Linked DNA regions of Homo sapiens: region 2 is linked to region 1. The links are contacts of gene promoters, found by promoter capture Hi-C in human tissues and cell types (Jung and others, 2019). All regions are on one chromosome and are shown on one strand. The core of a region is centred on a gene start or on the middle of the fragment in contact, and the rest is flanking DNA. Distances in the headings are between cores, read along the strand shown.

Region 1 (2,665 bases), core at 78-2,577:
ATACATGCTAAAATAGGGTTTTATATATAGAGGGAGTATGGGAGCCCCCAAAAGGGACATTTGCTTAGTTTTATGTGTAAATATCGGGCTGGAGGGTGAGGTAAGGGTGTTATTTCAGAGGTATCAGGAAAAATTCCTTAAAGATGAGAACTGAGCTGAGTTTTGGGAGACAGAGGAAATTAGGTAAAAGTGGAGTTGGGGGTTGCTTAGGAGTTCCCATATCTTGTGGCGGAACTTCAAGCAGTTTCGGAGTGCCAAGACAACAGCCTGTAAATGTAAGCAGAAGAAAGATCTGGAAGGGCTTTCTAGGCTGTTTTATATATTTCCATTTTAGTATCCATATCCATATGCTTATTTTAAACACTTGTCCATAGATCCTTACTACACTGGTAGCTCATTGATGCTAAGGACTGCATGTAGCTTGTTATCCAGGTGCCCAGCATAATAATGGGGATATGGTAGTTCCTCAAAAGTTAATGCAGAAATGAAAGAACAAACGGAAGAATAACAAGTAACGGCATTGTGAGCACTCTCCAGTGATGAAGTCATCAGATGGTAGGGATGTCAGGAAAGGGGACTATACCAGGTTAGACAGAGACCTACTCAGCATCTTAACTAACGGTGAGGTAAGTTTAGTAAGCCTCACATCTCAGAAATAAAATCAGAGGGAGGAATGTTGGGAGTTTCAAACTGCTTTCCTAGCGGGAAGGTGAAAAAACACAAAATATAGTGGGGTGCGGTGCCTCATGCCTGTAATCCCATTTTGCTGAGGTGAGAGGATTGCTTGAGGCCGAGTACGAAACCAGCCTGGGCAACATAGCGAGACCCCCGTCTCTACAAAAGAAAAAATGTGAAATTAATGGCAAGCGCCTGTAGTTCCAGCTACTGGGATGAGGAGGGAGGATCGCTGGAGGCTGCAGTGAGCTACGATCGCTCTAGCCTGGGCGACAGGATGAGACCTTGTCTCAAATAGAGATAGACAGACAGACAGACTTCAGAATTTATTAGGGTTTGTAATTTCCAGGTTCCAAAGCACAGCAAGGGAAAGGGCCTGGCTGGGTAGTACGTTACACCCGGAAGTAAAGAGACGCATACACCGTTGGGTGCACTTTATAGTCTGGCTGGCAAACGAGCGACACCGACGCGCAGAGTTAAGTGCTGGGACTTCCCAAGCCTGGAAAGCAGACCGTGTCTCTGCAACTACGCGGCTGCCACGAGCGCTGAGCGGCCGGGCATTTGGCCTCGAGGAGGAGGCACTGTAAGGGCGGCGCAAGAGGGCGGAACGCGGGACGCCAGGCACCCTAGCTCCCGACGGACGCAGTTTTCAGTTGCACGGGCGAGCTCCGGGCCGGCTGCGGAGCGACTCCCCGCCGCCAAGTGGGCGGCGTGGCTGTCGGGAAAGAAGGGCTGGGGCCTGCCGTTCTTCCTCCCGAGTATCCCCTCCAGCTGGACGACCCCACGCTGCAGCACGGGCTTCCGGCTTCTCTCCTCAGTGGCCAATTCGAGGGCACAGCGGGCTCCGGAGGCGCGGCGGCAAGCCTATCCCGCCTCCCAACCACAGCCTCCAGCACCCGAGAGAACGGCCGCCCACAGCACACGTTCTCCGGACAGGAGGGCGAAGGCCCAAGACCTGGAGAGGTGGGCTCGAGGGAAAGATCTGGGTCCCACCACTACTTCCTGGAGACGCCGGGGAAAGCAGGCCATCCTTCGAGCCACCCATCTCTTCTCCGATTGGTTAACTGCCTTCTTATTGCGCTCCGCTGGCTGGTGATTGGTTGGGATGCACCGTCTATCACCTGCTTCCTTGTGAGAATCTAGGTCTCTAAGGGAAGCGTTACTTGAGGCTCGGTTGGGAAGAGGTTGGTTGGGCCTCTTGAGCCCACTTTATTTATCGTAGTGGGGATCGTCCCCCGGCGCGAGCTTCCGTCGCAACGGCCGGGAAAGAAACCAGTAGCGGGACGGAGGGCGGGGGTGGCAAGAAAGTCAAGGTTTAGAAGTAAGCCGGAGACGCCTAACCCTGGTAACATCCGAATGGGAACGGGATAGGAAGGAAGGCCTTTGAGAGAGGAGGCGTAAACCCAGGAACAGTGACAGTGTAGGACGAAAGGCCTAAGTTTGTTGCGGAAGGTAGGGGCCTTGCGGGAGGTTTTCGTGACCTAATTGTATGGGGATCTAATTTTCTAGATGTGTCTAACAAAATCCACTGGAGAATTTGCTTTGGCTTTGCAGCAGAGTGGGGAGACTACCACCCGTTCCTGGCCTTTAAAGAAACAGTTTATTGAATTATTCAACTCTCTTTTATTGCTTCAGATGGGCAGCTCTCAAAAAAGGCACAAACAATTGAAGGATGGATACCATGGCATATGTTAAAAGCGTGTTGAAAGGAAAATAAGGTATTCGCTTTGTTTTCATTGTGATTAACTGTATAAGAAAATTACCTTTAAGGAGAAGCTCAAGTTTTAAATAATATTAGGGTAACTTGATTTTATGATAGGCTTCAACTTGTAAAATTATTTATTACAAAAATCCTATTATTGCTGTACCTACGAAATATGCTCTTTGCTAATTATGGTCTTAATCTGAAGATAGAGATCTTGAGTTTTTAGTAGTGTTAATTCATATTTGAGTGGATAATGTTACTAGGTCATTTGTTCAAAATGACATA
Region 2 (2,665 bases), core at 114-2,613, 370 kb before region 1:
AAGTAAATACCATGTTACATTTTTACAAAGAGTTAAGAGGTGGCAATCTTATTAGTACAGAAATAACTAAAAATACCACAAATTTTACTTTTTTCTCTGTGATTTAACAGGTGTTGGGGGGGCCTCTCAGCAGAGGGTCACGAATAAAAAATTAACAGGATGGAAATTAGCGCGATGGGAAATGAAAGCATCCAGGCTTCAAACCAAGAACATTCTGACAATGTCTTACAAACTGAGGACTGACAAAGCATATTAATGAGAAATACTGTTAGAATGCTATTCAGATATGGGTCTTCAGTTGCAGCTTTCCAAAAGAATTGGTTTCAAAGGGGAAGGGGAAGTTACACATAGAAAAGCAAAAGCATGTTCATGTTTTCCATTCCTTCCTGTACACTGAGCTCATGAGGTGAACCTTCTTCTGCCCTGGCGTAAGTCCAGCAATGGGGGGTGGCCATTCAAGAAACTAACACAAGAAGCAGGACAGCACTGCTCACTAACATTAAAATCTACAGATACATCTAGTCAAATTGAGTATGTTTACCTCTGTTCAAAACAATCCAAAGCATGAGGTCTAACATTCCCTCAGAGGCAGAAGGTATCCTACACCCCAAACTACACTAACAGCATTATCTTTTATTTTATTTTAAGTTCACACATAAATCTGCCAAACTCTGTTGTGCTTTGGAGAAATAACTAAAGAAAAGCTTTAAATACTAGATATAGTCAAAAATCATTCTAAAAGTATTAACATGGTACCAATTTTATTCTTAACATTCAACTAAAGCCAAAACAGCAAGACTCCTCAAACAAATGCATCTATTGACGATGCCACATCAGGCTTGCATCACTAAACCTCAGTAAGACTTTACCACTTGCCTACATAAGTCACTTTCTAAGCCATATGGTTGCCCATCCCTGCTGGGCTCAATTTGCAGTAAAGTTCTGATATCTTGCAATCACAGCAATTCCCAACATGACACCCTGTTCAGTGGCCACTTCTTCCTTCAATGCTCTCCAGGCACTGCCCCCTCCACTCCACATTACCCAGTTCTGAGAGGAACCATTTTTAGTGCTAAACTTCATGTCTGATAGAACAAGTTGAAACTTCTTCCAAACTAATACTCTCACAAAATGCCCCACAGTCTACCTATTTGGTTGAACAAAAACAGAAAGGAACGAAGTAACTATCCATCTACTGAGTATTTGAAAAGCAGACATGGAAGAATGCTCAACCTCAAGCAATATAAAGAAATACAGGGCCAGGCACAGTAGCTCGTGCCTATAATCCCAGCACTTTGAGAGACTGAGGCAAGAGGGTCATTTGAGCCCAAGAGTTTGAGACTAGCCTCGGCAACATGGTGAAACGCCATCTCTACCAAAAAAAAAATAGCTGGGTGTGGTGGTGTGTGCCTGTGGCCCCAGCCACTTGGGAGGCTGAGGTGGGAGAATCACTTGAGCCCAGGAGGTCAAGGCTGCAGTGAGCCATAATCATGCCACTGCGCTCCAGCCTGGGTGACAGAGTGAGACTGTCTTAAAAAAATAAATAAATTATAGAAGAAATACAAATTAGAGCTGCAATGCCATACCATTTTAACTTGTTAGATGAGCAAAGATTAAACATATGAAAAATCCCGGTGTTGGCCAGGATGGGGAGGGACACAGGTACTCTCTGACACTTTACTGGAGGAAGTAAACTGTTACGCATTTTAAAACTACAAAACGTTCGACAAGATCAAATTAGAATCCAGAAGAAAAATATATACACATTTCCTAAAATGTAATCTGTGATGATAACTGAAACAGAAGCCGATTTGGGGATACTATTTGACTTTGGTAAAAACACAAGTAAGGTTTAATCTCTTACCCCAACCTCCTGGCCACAGCTGACTGAATGGGGACAGACACTACCTAAAATGGGCCAGGTTTCCCTCCCAGAAATCTGGAATTGGGACTCTGTGGTTCTGATTTGGTCTGGTCATGTTGTGTTTTTAAACAGTGAAAACATAAACCTCACATCACATTAAGTTATGCTGCCTCTATTTCCATTTAGCATACAAACAAACAGCATTTGAGGATTCAATAAACCAACTCCCACTCTGAATTTTTCAGACTTACACTCTAGGGTTATTTTTTGCTTATATTCTTGTTTTTCCTAACCTTCCTTCTCATCTTTCTGATTTGAAGAATAGTAATTTCTATCAGCTTATCTGATTTATCACATTTACTTCTGCTTAAGAACATTATTTACAGTTATTTAATAGACTGAGTCTTGTGTAACTAGAGTCAACCAATTCCAAACCTTGCCCTCTACTTCAGAATATTATTCTTGATGGGATTATGGAGTTGCTGGTAAACTTTTCTTTAGGATTTGGTTTTGGATTTTTTAGTCTTTTTTCTTTTTAAGTCCTATAGCAATCATAAATCAATGAATTCTCAATGTAACTTTCCAAAAGAGACAAAAAAAACTTTTGGTCTCTTCATTTTAAAAACTCATTTTAATTTAATAGTGACTGACATTCACCAACAGATGAAGACCAATTTTTCCTCTTCATTTGTTCCATTATTTTCCAATTTGTTACAGAATTATACAAGCTACAGACTGATGTGCCCTTCAAAATGTCAAGTTTGACTTTAGAGAATTACCACCCCCTTGATTGTCTTCTCC

What was found. The method cuts DNA at HindIII sites, captures the fragments that hold promoters and counts their contacts. A contact is called where the count stands out against the background at its distance.
Region 2: a contact is called between a fragment that was not itself captured here and the fragment with the promoter of RNF6 in region 1, in 2 of the 25 tissues and cell types used here (dorsolateral prefrontal cortex and hippocampus).

What each region holds. Positions count from the first base shown.
Region 1 is chr13:26,220,976-26,223,640 of GRCh38, reverse strand. RNF6 (ring finger protein 6) reads left to right here and starts at 1,327. Exons shown (of 5, transcript NM_005977.4): 1 at 1,327-1,638; 2 at 2,311-2,393. RefSeq lists enhancers at 1,267-1,646, 792-1,673, 1,674-2,555 and a silencer at 2,097-2,146. The HindIII fragment of the contact is 8,375 bases long and covers 1-2,665 here.
Region 2 is chr13:26,587,686-26,590,350 of GRCh38, reverse strand. The region is part of intron 1 of WASF3 (WASP family member 3); the gene reads right to left. Among named protein-coding and RNA genes, the nearest start is that of WASF3, 31 kb to the right of the region's middle. The HindIII fragment of the contact is 3,775 bases long and covers 1-2,665 here.